Regions from separate parts of the Homo sapiens genome. Here regions 1 and 2 are each linked to region 3. The links are contacts of gene promoters, found by promoter capture Hi-C in blood cells and fetal thymus (Javierre and others, 2016). All regions are on one chromosome and are shown on one strand. The core of a region is centred on a gene start or on the middle of the fragment in contact, and the rest is flanking DNA. Distances in the headings are between cores, read along the strand shown.

Evidence for each region. The method cuts DNA at HindIII sites, captures the fragments that hold promoters and counts their contacts. A CHiCAGO score of 5 or more calls a contact.
Region 1: a fragment that was not itself captured here is called in contact with the fragment with the promoter of SRFBP1 in region 3 in 1 of 17 cell types (total B cells); the score reaches 5.1 in total B cells.
Region 2: a fragment that was not itself captured here is called in contact with the fragment with the promoter of SRFBP1 in region 3 in 3 of 17 cell types (total CD4 T cells, naive B cells and total B cells); the score reaches 9.4 in total CD4 T cells.

Annotation. Positions count from the first base shown.
Region 1 is chr5:127,500,713-127,504,139 of GRCh38, forward strand. No RefSeq gene overlaps it. Among named protein-coding and RNA genes, the nearest start is that of PRRC1, 15 kb to the right of the region's middle. The HindIII fragment of the contact is 1,537 bases long and covers 991-2,527 here.
Region 2 is chr5:127,520,471-127,523,832 of GRCh38, forward strand. It overlaps PRRC1 (proline rich coiled-coil 1), which reads left to right. Exons shown (of 9, transcript NM_130809.5): 2 at 2,990-3,112. The coding sequence starts at 3,010. Among named protein-coding and RNA genes, the nearest start is that of PRRC1, 4.5 kb to the left of the region's middle. The HindIII fragment of the contact is 2,639 bases long and covers 290-2,928 here.
Region 3 is chr5:121,959,666-121,963,336 of GRCh38, forward strand. It overlaps SRFBP1 (serum response factor binding protein 1), which reads left to right and starts at 2,310. Exons shown (of 8, transcript NM_152546.3): 1 at 2,310-2,403. The coding sequence starts at 2,368. RefSeq lists enhancers at 1,963-2,501, 2,246-2,295. The HindIII fragment of the contact is 3,156 bases long and covers 531-3,671 here.

The sequences.
Region 1 (3,427 bases), core at 509-3,008, 5.5 Mb after region 3:
TAAGGAGAAATAAAATCTCATGACAAAATCAGACTGTTGGAGTGTCTGGCAGTAGTTACAACAGTTGCCAAGATATTTTTATGTCTGAAAACCAGAACAATTACCCTTAATATTGTAGTTTTATATTCTTACATCTTTGGCTGCTTGATTTGTTTTTCCAGCCAAAACCAGTGTTGGTGAGTAATGTAAGAAATGTGTCAGTAATCAGTCCTAACACCTTTTTCGTGTTTAATCTATATATGTTCCAGTGAGCATACCACTCGTCTACTGTTCTTTCTGATAGATGTTTCTAGTTATATAGGGCTTTACTTTGCCTATATTCAGGTAGAAGGGTTCTGATATTGATAAATGAAGAAGGCCCACATTATCTCTTTTCTTTTTTTTTTTTGAGATGAAGTCTCGCTCTTGTCCCCCAAGCTGGAGTGCAATGGCGCGATCTTGGCTCACTGCAACCTCCGCCTCCCGGGTTCAAGCGATTCTCTTGCCTTAGCCTCCTGAGTAGCTGAGATTACAGGCATTCGCAACCATGCCCGGCTAATTCTTGTATTTTTAGTAGAGACGGGGTTTCACCATATTGGTCAGGCTGGTCTCGAACTCCTGACCTCAGTTGATCTGCCCACCTCTGCCTCCCAAAGTGCTGGGATTACAGGTGTGAGCCACCGCACTGGGCCATATATTTAGCTTTACAACAAGAAGCACCTGTCTTCATTAGATAGTGGCAGCAGAAATCCCACATTCAGAACATGAACTTGGCTTCACTGACTCCTTCATAGATTCCAACTTCACAAACTTCATATTCATTTCCAAGAGTATTCTTACAAAGTCCATTTTATTTTGCTCCTCCAAATTTAATTGAAAATCATTGCTTCCTATAATGCTTCCTTGCTTCTCTTTGCCCAAATTTCTGAAAATATAGATCCCAGATTTGCCCATAGCTGCTAATTTTTATATTGCCCTGCTCAGATTTTCTGCCACAGTGACTTAGTTTTAAGCTTGTCTAGACTCTGATTTTGACTCTCAGATTAGATGTAAGAAGTTTAGATTGGAGGTACAGACCAGAAGACTAGGAAGGGTCTTGGGAATCATATTAAGCCCGTAAGTCAAGTAACACAAGTGTCTCATTTTAAAATTTAAAGGTAAATACTACCACTGAGAGTGATAGCTCACACCTGTAATCCCAGCACTTTGGAAGGATGAGGTGGGTAGATGGCTTGAGCCCAGGATTTCGAGACCAACATGGGCAACATAGAGAAACCCCCGTCTCTACAAAAAGATACAAAGAAATTAACCAGGTGTAATGGGGTGCACCTGTAGTCCCAGCAACTTGGGAGCCTGAGGTGAGAGGATCACCTGAACCCAGAGAGGTTGAGACCGCAGTCAGCCGTGATCGCAACACTGCACTCCAGCCTGGGTGACAGAGTGAGACCCTGTCTCAAAAAAGAGAAAAGGTAGATACTACCAAAAATATATAATCAACTGAAGTGAGATGGTAGCAGTCAGGAGAACCATGGGTGTATACTGGTTTCATCTTTTCTCATAGTAGGGAATCAATAGATGCTAATACATAAAGTTAAATATACAACATAAAGTAGTAGTTATAAATATAACCATTAGTACAAAAACATGAACTCTCCAAATTACCAGACAATACACACATATACAAAATATTATAGATGATATAACAAAAAATTATAAAAAGGAAAAAAATAACTGAAAACACAATATGAAATATAATATGAAATATATCAGATAAAAAGTAAACATATATGCCATATAAATAAAGGTAAGTAGATTAACTCCTCATTTTAAAAAGTCTCAAACTAAATCATAAAGCAAAATGTAATTATATTTTCAAATTCAAGATATGTATCTAAGATAAAATCACTCAGAAAAAATGAAAACAAAAGAATGAGTAAAGGCCTATCAGACAAATGTAAAGAAAATAATAAAGGATACAATCCACTTCAATGATCTCATCATTATGTATATCTATGAATAAAATAACCTCGTATCAACATACTTAAAGCAAAAATTACAGGAAACACAAGAGGAAATAGAAACACATTAGGTACAGGCAGTTTTAATGCCCATATCTCAGTTCATGACATAGCAAGTGAATAAAAAATAAGTTTGTAAATGGAACACATAAATAATGTAAGTAATAAGTTAAGTTTGCTAACTAATTGCTCTGCATGGAATTAAATTCCATGACTTCACATTCTTTTCACATACCCACAAAGCATTGGAGTAAACTGACCATATTTTAGACCACAAATAAAACCTTAGTCAATTTTTCAAAATTAGAAGATGAAAATATGAATATAAGAAGTAAAAATATTGTAAAGGAAGAGTAAATAAAAGCAAATCAATTCATAAGCTATTGGAAACAAGCCAGTTCAGTAAGGTGACTGGTTACAAAATTAATATTAAATAAATAGCCTTCCTATATGCAAGAAATAATCAACCATAAAATGTAATAAAAGACTCTATCAATAATGGCAAGAAAAAAGATTAAATACCTAAGAGAAGCTTATGAAAAATATTTGTCTATATTTCTGCCAGGCACAATGGCATGTGCCAGTAGTTCCAACTACTCAGGGGCTGAGGTGGGAGGATGACTTGAGTCCAAAAGTTCTAAGCCAGCCTAGTCAATGTAGTGAGACCCTATCTATAAGACAATATAAATTAAAATGAATCTTTTTAATCTATATTTTAAAATATAGGATCCCCATAAAAATACCATCTGAGTTTTATTTTAATATAGATGAGCTGATTTTAAAGATATAATAAATTTTGCTCTAGAAAAAATTTATATATGGCAACATGCACACACACACACACAAAGACAGAATTCATATCACAAAGAAGGCAAAATATTTGCAACATGCATTGCATATATAGGACTAATTTTCTTATGGTGTGAAGATCTCCCATAAACTAACTTTTAAAAATCAAGAAGATAATATAAGATGGAGATCACAGCAAAAGAAGCACAAATAACCTTAAACACATAAAATAATTTTACTCTTAATATGATAAACACACCTGTAAATTAGCAAAGATTCAAATCTTTGGTAACAAACTGTAGTTGGAGAAGAAGTAGGGAAGCAGGCACTCATAGTTCACTGGTGAGAGTATAAACTGGTATGACATCAATGCAGAGCGACTTGGCGATATCCATTGAAATTCCAAAGACACATATCATTTGATCAAACAACTCTACTTTTGAGAACTTATTCTACAGATAATACTTGCACATGTGTAAAATGAGACATATCTAAGTAGGATCAATATAGCATTGCTGGGATTAGCAAAAGATTAAAATGAACTAAATATTCAGAATTAATACAAGTTAAATAATTGGCAATCTACTCTCTTCATGGAAGGTTTAGGCAAGGAGGTAGTAGAGTTGAAAGTTGAATGGGAC
Region 2 (3,362 bases), core at 359-2,858, 5.6 Mb after region 3:
ATTCAGCAATAAAAAGGAACCAATTTGATATATGCAGCAGCTTGGATGAATCTCAAGAACATTATGTTGAATGAAAAAAAGCCAACTTCAAAAGGTTATATGCTGTATGATTCGATTTATGTAACATTCATGGAACGAGAAAGTGATAGAAAACAGAGCAGTGTTTGCCAGGGCTTATGGTTGACGGGAAGGTAGATAAAGGAACAACATGAGGAAGTTTCTTTTTAGTGATGGAATGGTTCTATGTCCTGGTCGAGGTGGTGGTTATACGAGATTGTGCATATGATGAAGCTTCATAGAACTATGCACATACACACACACAGTAAATGTAAAAACATGTGAAATACAAATAAGATCTATAGTTAATAGTGTTGTACCAATGTCAGTTTCATGGTTTTGATCATTGTAGTGTAGTTATGTAAGATGCTGTTACTGAGAGAAGCTGGGTTTGGGGTACTCAAGAACTCTGCTGTTTCTACATTTTTTTTTTGAACCTAAAATTCCTTCAAAACAGTTAAAACAAAAGACAGTTATGCTACCCTCAGCTTGAATGCCTTACAGTTGTAGGATATGATAAATTTCTCTTCATAGATTTTAGCCTGTAAATTGTTAAGTACAATGAGTTCTGAGATCCTCTCCAAAGAACCAGTGTATCAGTATGTTCAGCTCCCCTGTTCTTTGTTCTTCATTTTAAAGTTTAAATTCCTAGTTCTTTATTTCTCCTTGCCCCCAGTTTCAGTAAACAATCCCCTTCTAGCCTCTATCAACTGCTCTGACCTTAGTCACCCTTGGTCACCTGCTCTGACCTTAGTAATCCTTGGTCATCTGCTCTGTTCTTAGTCATCCTGGATCACCTGTTCTGTAACCGTCCTTCCCGCCAAACTACTCACCCTGCTGCTCTGGCTCATACCCCTGCTCTCTTTAAAATAGCCAGTTGGAATTAGCTTAGACTGCGTGGTCCAACCCTAGCCAATGGGGGAAAGACACAGCAGTAGGGACTAGCTGCGTTAGGATAAGAACCCCTTCCCCTCCCTTGTTCAGGTGTGCTCTTGACATTGCTCCATCTGTGAGACACACCCTTCTATAGAAGTAAAATTGCCTTGCTGAGAAAATTAAATTTATGTTCGAGTGCTATTTCTTTTGTGGCACCGAAAATTTATTTCTAACACAGTGACACTCTGTTCTTTAAAAACCCAAGTTTTTTAACCTGGTTTATGAGGCTGAACACCTTCTGGGCTTCTGTCTGTCCCTCCAGTCCTGATTCTTCTTTCTCTCCCTTCACATGGATTTTATTGAATGTATCTTGTTCTTCCCAGCTCAGTTGGTATATATATTTGCTATATATTCACTTTTTCTGGACTCTGCCTTTCTTCCCTTGCCTAATTAAGTTCTTATCCTTCAAATCTCGGTTTATCTGTGACTTATTTGGGGAACCCTTTCCTTACCTCCAAGTCAAAATCATATTCCTGTCAAACAAAACTGTGTTCTTACCCTCAGAGCACATAATTCAGCTACCATTCATTGTAAATTGGTTTATTATTTGATTGTTTCGTGTACTAGACTGTAAGTATCCTATTTGTTTTTGCTAATCATTGTCATTTCCAAAGGCATCAGTATAGTGCTCGTCAAGCAGTTGACCTTCGCTAAAAACTTATTAAATGAATAAAAATATTAAAAACAAATATAGCATATTTAGAAGTTGGTTCTGTACTTGAGATACACTTCAGGATTTGTAATTTTAAAGAAAGTTTTCTCATATTTTATAATCCATTGTTGTCTATTAGGATGCTGCTATCTAATGGCATTTTTGCTATAGTTAACTTTTCTAAAACCTCAGATATACAATTTATCTGTTACTGGATATGCTTTAAAATGTGAACTAGGAAAATTGTGAATTAATGCTTTTATCAAGTGAAGCACATTTTATTTTATTTTATTGAGACAAGGTCCTGCTTTGTTGCCCAGGCTGGAGTACAGTGGCATTCTCACTGCTCCCTGCAGCCTCAACCTCCTGGGATCAGGTGATCCTCTCACCTCAGCATCCTGAGTTGCTGGGACCATAGGCACATGTCACCCTGCCTGGCTAATTTTTTAATTTTTTTGTAGAGATGGAGTCTTCCTATGGTGCCCAGGCTGGTCTCAAACTCCTGGTCTCAAGGGATCCTCCCACCTCTACCTCCCAAAGTGTAGGTTTACAGCGGTCAGCCACTGTGCCTGGCTTTATTTTTTTTTTATGTTAATGGGGTTATCTTATACACAGTACTTTATGAGAGAAGAGGAAGGGCTTCAAAAATACATTAAATATTTTATTTATTTATTTTTAGAGATCTTGCTCTGTCACGCAGGCTGGAGTGCAGTGGTGCAGTCATAGCTCACTGCAACCTTGAACTCCTGGGTTCAAGGCATCTTCTCATCACAGCCTCCCAAAGTCCTGGGATTTCAGACGTGAGCCACTGTGCCCAGCCTCATTTTTATTTTAAATTTAATAATGACTGAAATTTATATTATTTACTTATTTTATTTTTTAGAAATGAGATCTTGCTATGTTGCCCAGGCTTGTCTACAACTCCTAGCCTCAAATGCTTCCCGTCTTGGCCTCCCAGAGTGCTGGGATTATAGGCATGGGACACCACACCTGGCCCAGACATAACTATCTCTAACATGCATTCATGTGGCAGAAATCAAATTAGTAATTTACTATTTGAAATGTAGTAGATAATTAGTTATATTGTTATTATAACATGAAATTATTTCCCACTTATAAAGTATCTACATGGGAATGTTACAGATTGTTTGATATTAAATATTCTCATAGATTGCTTTCTTAGAAATTTGGACAAACTCTTCGTCTGGAAATAAGTTGCATTATAAACAGTAAAGGTGGACATCTATCTCTTGATGATTTTTTTTTTAGTCGTTCTCTATTCAAGCTTTAAAAATATACTTTTGGTTACTGTGTAATATTTGTTACATTTTTGTGTTTTTATAGTATACCATAATTGAAGAAAAATGATGGAAGAGAGTGGAATAGAGACAACACCACCTGGGACTCCTCCACCAAATCCTGCAGGGCTGGCTGCTACTGCTATGTCTTCTACCCCTGTTCCATTAGGTACATGTAGTTGTCTAACATCTCGTGTGTTTTGAGAATAGTGAAGATACTATCATCTTTTCTCAGAGTCAATTAAGAAAAGAATGCATATATTAAAACTTCTCTATTATTTTTCAGGATGAAAGGAAATAGCCTTTTTAATTTAAAGAATAGAAAGAAAGTCTTGTGTATTTAAAGTAAGAAAACATCAGTGTTTTGCTTTAGGTGGACTTTTGTTCTTTATGTTCATAATTTTACCATCATTTATATT
Region 3 (3,671 bases), core at 1,060-3,559:
GAGATTTTAGGGAGCAAAAGAAGTAGTCAAGAGAAAACACTGCAAAGCTTTTCAGAGTTACAGGCAAATTTTGTATTAGTAATACATTTTCTGAAGCATTATGGGATCATAATAACTCCTTTCTCCCAAATTCGAAGACAGATTTTCAATAAAGCTCTCTATTTATCTTGATTATTTGACATTCCTTCGTATGTATTTATATGCAAAGTGTACACTACCCACCTGGAGCTGAAAAAGCTCCTACACTCCAGGAGTTCAGCTTTAATGACAGAAGGTAGACAAAGGAAACAATTACAATTCAGCGTACTATTTAGTAGTGGCAAATCTACCTTCATGTAACACTGGTCCAACAGGAAGTCATCTGTTAAATCCATTTGTGTCCAAATAATGCACCAAACTAAAAGAATGCCAATTTCTTTTACCAAGTCAGAGCTATTCTAAGCGGAGTTCAGTTTTATGAGATAACAGCATGGGTTCTGGACAAGGCTGGTTTCTTCGGCAAAGGCTCAGAAGTGGGCCTTGGTTAACTAAGCTTTGGGCACAGTCTTGAAATTATTAGTGATTTCCTTTTTGAATTTGAGTTTTGTAAGTGAAGTCTAGTGGGATAATGGAACATGTGCCAAGGCCTTGTTGTCTCAGGTCATGTGTGGTCCTGTCCCCAAAAGCTCCTCAGGTGGATTCTCTGGTTTCCTGCTCTCCTGTCTCCACCCAGCAACTGCTGCCACCTTGCTCCAGTGTATACACTCCTACCTGAGTCTTGGGGCAGGGGTCTCAGGCACCTTTGAGGGTCTGCCCTGACAACCTAATGTCTCTGTGCTTTAGGGAGCATCGTATTAAATAGTAAATTAACAAACACCATGATGAGTCAAGAGACGCTATGGAAGAAACTTTTTTTTTTTTTTGAGACGAAGTTTCACTCTTGTTGCCCAGTCTGGAGTGATCTTGGCTCACGGCAACCTCCGCCTCCCAGGTTCAAGTGATTCTCCTGCCTCAGCCTCCCGAGTAGCTGGGATTACAAGCATGCGTCACCACGGTCGGCTAATTTTGTATTTTTAGTAGAGACGGGGTTTCTCCACGTTGGTCAGGCTGGTCTCGAACTCCCGACCTCAGGTGATCCGCCCGCCTAGGCTTCCTAAAGTACTGGGATTACAGGCATGAGCCACCACCCTCCGCCGGAAGAAACGTTTTTCCTGCATTTTGAATAAAGGGGCCTGGATTTTCATTTTGCACTGTACCCCAGGTATTATGTAGCTGGACTTGAAGTCCTGTAGCAGTGGACAGTCCCAGGCAAGTGACTCTGGGCGAGGCACTTGGTGCCTCTGAAGTCACTTTCCACATCTGTAAAATAATAGTTCAGAGCAGAGTAGGGTGGCTCACTCCTGTAGTCCTAGTTATTTGGAAGGCTGAGGTGAGAGGATGGCTTGAGCCCAAGAGTTTGAGGCTGCAGTGAGCTATGACTGTGCCACTGCACACCAGCCTGGATGACAAAGAGAGACTGGGTCTCTAACAAAATAATATTAATAAAAGGAAAATAATTTCTATCTTGTTGGATTTCTGTGGAGATTTGGAGCTAATTTATGTAAAGCTCTTGGACCACCATTTGACACATTTTAATGGTCAATACTAGAAGGTGTTGACAATTATATATTACCTAATTCAAACACACTCCCTTACGTCTCCTATGCTTGCCGGCTAATAAACAGCCATTCCCACAGGCAGTACCAAATGTGTATCCTGGTTTTGCTTCAAATGTTTATTCCCTAAATTTAAACCCTTCTATAGTGTGCAGGAAAAAAATGTCCGCACCTCAGCTATAATGTCAGGTTGTAACAAAAAACTGCGAGGATTTAAAAAGGTGTGCTTGTTAGAAAAGCAGAAATCTTCACAAATACTAGATTTAAAAAAATGGAAGCAAAAAATCGTTCATTCAAGTGATCATTTCAGAAGAGCTCTTTCACCGCCGTTCAGCGCCCCCCTAGCCATTAGAGAGAAAAACCAAGGCCGGTACAATGCGAGCGCAGTGTACCAAGGGAACACACACACACACACACACACACACACACACACACACACACACACACAAACCGAATCTTGAAAAACTAGACGTTGCCCAGCTACCAGCCCCCGTCTGGTTTCCATAGGAACGCGCAATTCCGTTGCGTAGCCCTCTGCGCCGGTAGTTGTTCTGTCTCAGTTCCGGTTTTCCCTTCCAAGCGTCAATGTTTCTTGTTCCCAGGCGGCAGCTAGAGCAGAAGGCGGATGAGTTTTGGACAGAAGAGGCTTCCGTTGAGGGGCGTGGCGACGCAGCCGCGGTCTGAGAGACCGGTTCACGTGCAGGCAGCGGCGGATCATATTCCTTCATCTACCATGGCTCAGCCGGGAACTCTGAACCTCAATAACGAGGTGAGCGCCGAGGAACCTATGGGGCTGACTTTAAGGGTCCTCAAAACCAGCTCTTTTGAGACGCGTGGTCGGAGGCGGGCATAGAGGGTGCGGTTGGAGGAACTTTCGTGGTGGGCCCAGGCGGGTTTCCCGCAACTTGGAGTTTGGCAACCGGTAATTTCCCTTTTCGGTCTCCAGGTGACTAAAGTGAGAGACATGTGTCAGGCCCCACGAATTTATGTCTGTGGGACTTTGGGAAGAACCTTTAGCCTGTACGTTCAATATTCTCGTCTGTAAAGCGGAACTCAAGATAGTTCGTCCCAGGGTTGTGAGATTAACTGAGATACGTAAAGTATTTGCAAGTGCCTGACCCTTAATAAACTTTCAGTACACATTACCTGCTCTTTATTGCCTGTCGAAAATGAAAGAGAGAAAGTAAGAGCTGTAGCTTCTAAGAAATTGGTGGTCTTGAATGAGACTGTATGCTCAGTACTTCGTTTCCTCTTCCAGTTAGTGTCCTATTTCTTTGCTTCCGTTTACAGCAGAACTTCAATAAAGAGCTGTTTATACTTGCTATCCTCAATTCTTTTTTCTGCTTTTTCAGTCCATTCTCATCAGACATTTGTTCTCACCACCGTCACTTCCATAGTGTGCGGTGTCGACAAAATACCATTTCTACCACTTATCCCCCTCTGGTTTCTGCTTCTATTCAACAAAATAATGTCATCCAAAGTCTTAAAGTAAGCTGGAAACATAAGGATCGAGTAAGGACCTCACAGTTAGATACAGAAAGGAAATTCTTTATCCCGTTTATGAGCAAGTCACTGTTTAGATTACACACAGTAGTGTAAGGGATATTTCATATTTTCTAGTAACCTATACTCAAGTAAGAGAGCTAAGCAACACTCACCTGTGTTACAGAACAATGTGTGAAGAATGCCTCCAAAACCTAGTAATGCAGAAAAGTTTCCAAAGGCGGCAAAATGAAATGGGTGATACTTGTCCTTGGTCTTTAGGGATCTTGCACAGGAATTGCAGTCAGTGATTCAGGAAAGGGGAAGAAGTCATTCCAGGCAGAGGGACTGGTATAAGCAGGAAAGGGCTAGTAGCAGAAGAACCCGTGGGTAATACAGGGATAAGTAACTCTTCACTGATGGGAACTTGTGAGATGAAGAAGGAAATAAAACTGAAATATATTCTCTGCTGCCAGATTAACGAGTCAGGATTTCAGTTGACAGTGGAGTACAGGATATGCTGAAGAGGGAAGCTGAAAGTAGTTACTATTTACT